Regions from separate parts of the Homo sapiens genome. Here all the other regions are linked to region 1. The links are contacts of gene promoters, found by promoter capture Hi-C in human tissues and cell types (Jung and others, 2019). All regions are on one chromosome and are shown on one strand. Each heading gives the region's core, a stretch centred on a gene start or on the middle of the fragment in contact. The rest is flanking DNA. Distances are from core to core; before and after follow the strand shown. Region 1 holds the start of TCIRG1 (T cell immune regulator 1, ATPase H+ transporting V0 subunit a3). Region 2 overlaps CHKA (choline kinase alpha). Region 3 overlaps CHKA (choline kinase alpha).

Region 1 (2,950 bases), core at 319-2,818:
TTTACAAAGCACTACTTTGTAAAAAGCTACTTCTTCGAAAGAACAAGTTTCCTGGCCCAGTGAGTGTTGGAAATGCTCCAGCTGCTGTGTGCCTGCTGGCAGGTACTGCATGGTAGACATTCAAGGCTCTGAGAAGGCCTGCAGCAAAAACACCAGCCTCTCCCAGCCCATTCCCAGGGAGCTTTTCTCAGGTCTAACACCTGGGCCTCCTTCCTAGACCAGGCATTGCCATCTAATGCCAAAGTGGCCAGGCTCCCGCTTGGGCCCCACAGCCTGTGGCACTGGGGTGAGAAGTAACTGCAGGAGGCGAGGGGAAGCCTGGAGCCCGGGAAGTGTCCACAGGTCTGGCCCGCAGCTCATCTTGGCCACTGATGAAAACAGGTGTTCTTTCCAAAAACAAGGCAGGCGCAGGACTCCTGAAGCACCGCCGGTTTAGCTTTTCCCAGACGTAACCGCCGTCAGAGCGTGGCATGGAGCCTGTAGCTGTGCACTGAATACTTCTATTCCAAGCGGGTCAGTCTTTCCAGCTCACCGCTGGGTTCTTTCCCTTACCGTGGTCTCCCAGGCACTTACTGCTGAGACCCCACTCAGGCTGTCTGGTTGTATCAGGCCCCGACCCTGTCAGAACAGGCCTATGGCGCCCAACCACAAGTCCCCCAATTTTCTGAGGAACCACAGCTGAGCTTGGCTGTGACTCAGTTTCCAGGCCCGGCTCTGGGGCTCCACTTGTCCACCCCTGCCGCAGCCCCACAGGCCTGTGCTCGCTGTGTGGGGCTTAGGGATCACCAGAGCTGAAGGGCCCCTGGCCTCCAGTGGGAATGCCCCAGGCCTGTCCAAAGTGCAGGCAGCTGGACGGTCGTGAGTCCCAGCTTCCAGGCACTAGGACCTGATGACGCCCATGGTGCTGACCTGGAGCAAGGTCACAGTGACACCCCCCTCTACCCCCCGCGGCTGCAGCTGCAGGTGGAGCTGACAGCTGGCCTCTGGCCCCAGGGTATCTCCCAGGGCCTGCTGGGTGCGGGGCGCTGGGCAGAACAAGGCAGCATGGCCTGGCCCTGTGTCCTGCTGCCAGTGAAGCAGGCCCAGAGTGGGGCAGCCACCCACCCAAGGGCCAGAGCGGGGCCTCTCCAGGGTGGTCAAGAGCAGGAAGGTGTAAGCACCGGCGGGTTTCACTGCCGCCCAAGGGAGGGGTCCCGGAGGTGGGGGAGCATCCTGGGGACCCCAAGCCCATGAGCCTGCGAATGTTGGGGTCCCATCAGCCAGAGGCGCACAAGCCTCGAAGTGAGAGGAGAGCAGGGTCTCATCTCCTATCCTGAGCTGGGCCTGAGCGGAGCTGCCCCTGCATCGGGGCCAGCATAGACGCGCGCGGTTGGCAGTGGTCTGTTATCCGCTCCTTTCTCCAGGCCTCCTCTCCGGGATTAAGCGCCTCAGGACCCGTCCGCCAGGCCACAGCCTGGGCTCAACCTCTCCCAGACTTCCTGGACTCCAGTGGAGCCTTGGGCCGGGGGCGGGGCGTCCCTGGCCCCTCCCCGTCGTCCCGCCTGCCCGGAAAGGAGTGAGCGGCGCCTAGTCCCGGGCTGGCGGGAGTGCAGTTCTGAGTCCCGCCCGGCGTGCGCGGAGCGGGGCAGCCAGCAGCGGAGGCGCGGCGCGCAGCACACCCGGGGTGAGTGCCCCTGCCGGGGTCTGCGGAGCCCCAGAATTTCCTGCCCACCCTCTTCCCCCTGCCCCGGGGAGGAGATCCTGGCGCCCCACCCAGTTGGCTCCGTGAATGCAGCTCAGCCCGCCACCCCGCAGGGTGTCAGGCCTTGCGGGGGGCCACGGAGGATCCCCAAGGGAGGAGGAGAAGGATGGGGTGTTTACCAACACAGCCCAGCGTTCCCGGGCCTGGTGTGCGCGGAGCTTTCCCCGCTGCTGCTTCCTTGGAGGGAGGGACCCATTCTACAGATGGGGAAGCTGAGACCACACAACTAGGAAGTGTCAGAGCTGGAGACCAGCTGGGTCATTTGACTCCAGAGCCCACCCCATTTGGAATGGAGGGGGCGCCAGACCCTCTCCTACTGCCTTCCCATCATCTGGAGGGGAGGGCAGAGGTGCAGAGAGACCTGCTGGGTTCCTGGAGGGGCCAGGAAAGGGGCACAGGGTGAGGAGTGGGCTGGAGCCTGGACCCCAGGGCCGCAGGATGGAGGCGTATTCATTTACACCATAAAAGTGGCTGGGTGACCCTGGCTAGAGCGGGGACCAAGGGGGACAGGGGTAGGGGGTGAGCCAGTGGAGCCTCACATGCCAGGCACGGGGGCTGATCACGTCCCCACACCTTTCCCCCCGCCCATTACAGGTTGTTCCCCCACCCCCTGGGAAGTGCTGGAAGGAGCCCGGCCCTCGAGCCCTCGGCATAGTGGCTGTGGGAGCCCTGATGGCCCTGAGCCAGGGGTGACCCCTCCCCAGATCCCCAGAGCTGATTCCCCACACCTCCTTATTTGGCCAGCACAGCCCCAAAGGGAGCCAGGTCAGACACAACCCTCCTCTGAGCTCACCCTTTGTGCTGGGCACATAACATTGGACTTTACCTCTCCAAGTGTCAGTGGAGTCCTGTATGAAACAAAAGCACCGTACCCCCTCCCCAAGGGTTTCTCCCCCCAGGGATTAGTGTGAGGTCGTGTGGATGAAGGGATTCAGTTGAGGCTCTGGTTATTTTTGTCACCTCCCTAGATCCTGTCTCTGTCAGGGGTGCCACGTCCCATTCACCCAAAGAGGAAGTAGAGGCACAGAGAGGGTGAGAGACTTGCCCAAGGTCACACACCCAATCTCAGCCTGGGCTCCAAGTCCCTCTGCCCTGTGGCCGGGCCTGGTCCTTAGGGATGGAACCCAGCCCCGCTGCCCCCTGCCCTGCCCACCTGCAGCCTTGGGCCATCTGCTCAGTGTTCCCTCGTTCCCTCCTTCTCTCCTTTCC
Region 2 (2,950 bases), core at 267-2,766, 64 kb after region 1:
GATAGCCAGAAAAACAAGGCAAGAGAAAGAAATAAAAGGCATCCAAATTGGAAATGAAGTTAAATTATCCCTGTTTGCAGACAACATGATCTTACATATAGAAAACCCTAAAGACCCCACCAAAAAACTATGAGAACTAATAAGTTCAGTAAGATTGCAGGATACAAAATCAACATACAAAAATCAGTAGCAGTATTATTTCTAAACGGGAGGCTCAGGTGGGAAGATCACTTGAGCCCAGGAGGTCAAGGCTGGAGTGAGCTGTGATCACGCCACTGCATGCCAGCTAATAGCAAATTATCTGGAATGGAAATCAAGAAAACAATCCTGTTTACAATAGCTAACAAAAAAAAAAAGAAAAGAAAAAGAAAGAAATTTAACCAAGGAGGTGAAAGAGCTCTGCAATGAAAACTTTAAAATATTGATCAGAGAAACTGAAGACACAAATAAATGGAACAATATCCCATGTTCATGTATTAGAAGAATTAATATTGTTAAAATGTCCATACTGGCCAAGCGCGTGGCTGACGCCTGTAATCCCAACACTTTGGGAGGCTGAGGTGGGCTGATCACCTGAGGCCAGGAGTTCAAGACCAGCCTCGCCAACATGATAAAATCCTGCCTCTACTAAAAATACAAAAATTAGCTGGGCATGGTGGTGGGCGCCTGTAATCCCAGCTACTCGGGAGGCTGAGGCAGGAGAATCTCTTGAACTCAGGAGGCGGAGGTGGCAGTGAGCCAAGATCACGCCACTGCACTCCAGCCTGGGTGACAGAGCAAGACTCTGTCTCAAAAAAAAAAAAAGAAAAAAAAAAGTCCATACTACCCAAAGCAATCTATACATTCAATGCAATCCCTATCAAAATACCAATGACATTCTTCATAGAAATAGGAAAACCAATCCTAAAATTTATATGAAATCACAAAAGACCCCAGTAGCCAAAGCAATCTGGAGCAAAAAGAACAAAGCTAGAGGAATCACACTACCTAACTTCAACATATACTACAAAGTCATAGTAACCAAAACAGCATGGTGTTGGCATAAAAACAGACAGAGACCAATATAACAGAATAAAAGCCCACAAATTAATCCACACTTACAGCTACCTGATTTTCAACAAGTGTCAAGAACACAATAGGGAAAAAGACAGTCTCTTCAATAAACAGTGTTGGGAAAACTGGATATCGCACGCACAAGAATGAAATTAGATCCTTATCTCACACCATATACAAAAATAAACTCCAAAATGGATCGAAAACTTAAAGTAAGACCTGAAACTATGAAACTGCCATAAGAAAACATAGGGAAAAAGCTTCATGACCTTGGTCTGAGCCAGGAATTTTTTTTAAAAGACCTCAAAAGCACAGGCAACACAAACAAAAATAAACAAATAGGATTATAGCAGACTAAAAAGCTTCTGCACAGCAAAGGAAACAAGAGTGAAGAAACAACCTACAGAATGGAAGAATCTATTTGCAAACTATACATCAGTTAAGGGGATAATATAGAAAATATACAAGGAACTCACAGCAAAGAAAGGAAAGGAAACCAATTAAAAAATGGACACCAGCTACTCAAGAGGCTGAGGCAAGAGGATCACTAGAGCCCAGGAAGTCAAGGCTGCACTGTACTTTAGCCTGGGTGACAGAGCAAGACCCTGTTTAAAAAAAAAAAAATATATTTGCCCTAAATGGTGGCGTGTGCCTATATTCCCAGCTTGGGAGGCTGACATAGGAGGATTGTTTGAGCCTAAGAGTTTGAGGCTGAAGTAAGCTATGAATGCACCACTGTACTCCAGCCTGGATGACAGAGCAAGATTCCATCCCTCAATAACAAAAACAAGGCAAAAGACCCAACAGACATTTATCAAAAGATGACAAATAAATGGCCAGAAAGCCACATGTGGTAGGTAGCACGTGCCTGCAGTCCCAACTACTCGGGAGGTTGAGATGGGAGGATCACTTGAGCCTGGGAGGTTGAGGCTGCAAATGAGCTGTGATTGTGCTACTGCACTCCAGCCTGGGTGACGGAGCAAGACCCTGTCTCAGTAAATTTAAAAAAAATAAAATAAATGGCCAACAGGTATATGAAAAAATGCTGACCACCACTAGTCATTATTAGACTGTCTATTTTCAATGATAAAAGATAACAAACGTTGACAAGGATGTGGAGAAAAGGGAACCCTTACACACTGTTGATGGCAATGTAAGTTAGTACAGATATGAAAAACAGTATGCAGGGTCCTCAGAAAATTAAAAATAGAATTACCATTAAGATCCAGCTCCTGCTCATCAAAGCAAGTTTAAAAAAAAAAAATCCAGGCTTGGTGCAGTGGCTCATGCGTGTAATCCCCGCACTTTGGAAGGCTGAGGCGGGCAGATCACCTGAGGTCGGGAATTCGAGATCAGCCTGGCCAACATGGTGAAACTCTGTCTCTATTAAAAAAACAAAAAAATTAGCCACGCATGGTGGTGTACATCTGTAATCCCAGCTATTTGTGAGGAGGAAGCACGAGAATCACTTGAACCCGGGAGGCAGTGTTGCAGTGAGCCGAGATCACACCACTGCACTCCAGCCTGGGAGACAGAGCAAGGCTCAGTCTCAAAAAAATAAAAAATAAATAAATTAATTAAATAAAATAAAAAATTAAAAATCCAGCAATCCCATTACTGGTAATACATCCAGAGGAAATGAAATCAGTACATCAGACATCTACACTCTCATGTATATTGCAGCACTAGTCACAAAAGCCATCAATTGATTATAGAATAAATGTAAGTGTCCATCAACAGATGAATAAAGAAAATGTGGTATATATACACAGTAGAATCCTATTAAGCCTTATAAAAGCAGGAAATTCTGTCATTTGTGACAATATGGATGAACCTGGAGGACAGTACTTATATTAAGCAAAGTAAGTCAGGCACAGAAAGACAGTAACAATGTGAT
Region 3 (2,950 bases), core at 255-2,754, 42 kb after region 1:
AGGTGACCGAGGGAGACAGGACAACATGAGAAGAGGGCCTATGGTCAAATCATGGGGCGCCCTAGCATGTAGACAGCCAGATCTGTACTTTGTGTCTCTGTGTCATGGCTGCCCTCAGGAGAGGAAACATTTCAAAAGGGTGGGGGTCATGTCAAATGCTACTGAGAAGTCAAAATAAAATGAGAACTGAAAAGTACTTTGGATTTAGCATCACGCAGGTCCTGGTGATCCACCATTTTCAGCTAACAGGATGTCCAAAGGCCTCTGCACAAAGGGCTTGGAATGGTTCACAACAGATTGTCAATCACTTCCCACCCAAGGACTTCCCAGTCACTGTCACTCCAGAGAGCACAAGTTCTAGATCCTCTAGCAGGGCACCCAGAGCAAGACACATGTAAAACAAGCCGCTGAAAAGTGTGGAAAAAATATCATCACTTTCATTCCTTTTTTATCTCAACCGTTTTAATGTCTATTTCTTGATTTTTTTCTTTTTTTTTTGCATTTGGTGGGGACGACTCCTGTCGCCCAGGCTGGAGTGCAGTGGCACAATCTCGGTCTACTGCAACCTCCGCCTCCCAGGTTCAAGTAATTCTCCTGCCTCAGCCTCCCAAGTAGCTGGAATTACAGGTGCCCACCACTATGCCTGGCTAATTTTTCTATTTTCAGTAGAGACGGGGTTTCACCTTGTTGGCCAGGCTGGTCTCAAACTCCTGACCTCATGATCCACCTGCCTCAGCCTCCCAAAATGCTGGGATTACAGGTGTGAGCCACCGCATTCAGCCTATTTCTTGACCATTTTAATAATCAATATACAATTGGTAAAAGTGATGTGGCGATGTGTGTATCTACATCTTAGACCCACGTATGTTGGGCATGTGTGCACATGCACCCTTCTCTGTGAGCCTGCACATAATGGCAGAGATGCTCAAAAGGTGCTTACGCTGGGGCATGCAGACCAACACCCCAGACCCCTGCCTCTGAGGCTCCATCGGTCAGTGCTCTTGGCCTCAAGCCATCTGCACATGTGTGTTTCAGAGAGTGGGGTCACATTCTCTAAGTCTAGGAAGAAGCTTTTCCAACTTGGGTATCATCCATAGGAAAAAACATTGCTGTTAGCCCATGGAAAATGGGTGGCCACCAAAACCACTGGGCAGTGACCCGCTTCCTGATGGGAAGTGTGGGAACGACCAGAAAGGGGGTGAGAGAGGCATCACAGCAGCGGCAGCCAGGGCCTCCTCATCAGGTACCACACACGAATGCTCCCCTGGCTGCCATCTGCCAACATCCGAATGCTGTTTCGATTGCCATAAAGACACCAAACTTCCACAGTCTACACTCTCAGGAGGAATGAGGAATACCCACCGCTCACTCAGTCTCCGTAAGGTGGCTTCTGATAGATATACCAAGAGCCCCTCCTCGTAGAAAGATAGATCAGGATTTTCCAAGGGTAGATAAGAGGCACTGCCAAGCCCTGGAGTAGCGAAGGGTGGCTAACACTAGTTCACATCTCACACAGATGCAGAAAGACTGAATTACTTACTTGAAATTCATTTTCTTTCTGAGCTTGTTCGGATCCCTCTTTATTACAGGACCTCTATGAATGAGAAAAAGGAAACACTTCTGGTGAGATGGGGAACACTAAACAGACACTAACTTTGCAACCACCAGAACAGTCAGGGTTTACAAAACATCACAGGTCTTTAAGGAAGGTTTCTCAGCCCACCGATGTGACGGGCAGCATCTAATGCACCAGCAGCCTCCAGCACTAGTACCAACACCTTAGAAAGTGCTTCATTGCTTTACGAGAAAAGGGATGTGCCGGTGAGACCCGATAGCTGCACGTCTCACAGCCGCCCCATGTACCTTTCACAATTTCATTGTTAGAGGAAAGTCAATAGAGTGCACTCTTCCAATCAGGCCTTCTAAAGACAAGCGGTCAGGCTGAGTCTCTCACCAATTTAGCTACGTGGTTCTCTCAAGTCAACCTGCAAGAACAGGGAGTGTAAACATGCCTGTGGACAGCTGTGGTCAGCACAGAACTTGGACAGAGAAGAAAGCGCTGTGCAGGCAGGAAACCTGGCACAAAATCTGTGCAGACATGCCCTGCCGACTCGCCACTTTCCCAGAGTAACCCCTCTAGTTCAGCCGGTCACCAGCTCAAGCTGAACTGTTCCTCTACCATAAAGAGGACTGTGTGTATTTAATAAAGTCTCTAAAATTATTTCATATATTAATATATTAAGAAATACTTATATCACTTTCCTCAATGAAATTGCAAATTTATGATAACCAGGATTCTAGCAATAACAACACACTAGATCATTAACTACCATAAACAACCCTTGGGCTACATTCTTTCTCATGGTACAGATCATATATTTTAAGAGCAACCCCCCACCCCAAATGCTTTAAAATCCTTCGTACTATCTTTAATAAGGGAATGGGGAAAAGTAAAGTCAGAAACTTGTGTCACGTCAAACTTTTATACTCAAATACTGCCTCTAAAAATGTTACTTGTTAAATTAAACTAAGTCTGCTTAAGCCAGACACAAAAGGAATCCCAGAAAGGAAACCTCTTTAAAAAAATTTAAGGTAACAGATTCTTGAACACCCCATGAAAAACATACCTTTCCATTCCACAGCTTTATCAAAAATACCTGTACCAAGGGTGGAAAGTGTGGACAGGAAAAAAAATGCCACGTTAAGCAACACCAGCTACTCTAGCACCAATCAAAAACCTAGTGATTTAAAGCAACCACTCATCCATCACACACTGAAATAACATTACAGACGTTTTAATGCATGTTTTGTATAAACAGTACATGTAATATAAAAGTAAACAAAATAAGTATCCATGTTCATAAATCTATTTGCAAAAGGCTCTTAACGTTTGCACTGATACATATTCAATACTATATTTAGCATACAGTTAAGTACATTTGGTACAAAG

The links. The method cuts DNA at HindIII sites, captures the fragments that hold promoters and counts their contacts. A contact is called where the count stands out against the background at its distance.
Region 2: a contact is called between a fragment that was not itself captured here and the fragment with the promoter of TCIRG1 in region 1, in 2 of the 25 tissues and cell types used here (lymphoblastoid cells and small bowel).
Region 3: a contact is called between a fragment that was not itself captured here and the fragment with the promoter of TCIRG1 in region 1, in 1 of the 25 tissues and cell types used here (psoas muscle).

The regions. Positions count from the first base shown.
Region 1 is chr11:68,037,457-68,040,406 of GRCh38, forward strand. It overlaps TCIRG1 (T cell immune regulator 1, ATPase H+ transporting V0 subunit a3), which reads left to right and starts at 1,569. Exons shown (of 20, transcript NM_006019.4): 1 at 1,569-1,663. RefSeq lists an enhancer at 928-1,549 and silencers at 1,441-1,620, 1,681-1,760. The HindIII fragment of the contact is 15,208 bases long and covers 1-2,950 here.
Region 2 is chr11:68,101,309-68,104,258 of GRCh38, forward strand. All of the region lies in intron 1 of CHKA (choline kinase alpha), which reads right to left. Among named protein-coding and RNA genes, the nearest start is that of CHKA, 19 kb to the right of the region's middle. RefSeq lists a silencer at 2,213-2,413. The HindIII fragment of the contact is 5,457 bases long and covers 1-2,950 here.
Region 3 is chr11:68,079,864-68,082,813 of GRCh38, forward strand. CHKA (choline kinase alpha) reads right to left here. Exons shown (of 12, transcript NM_001277.3): 3 at 1,541-1,594. Among named protein-coding and RNA genes, the nearest start is that of MIR6753, 37 kb to the left of the region's middle. The HindIII fragment of the contact is 3,675 bases long and covers 1-2,950 here.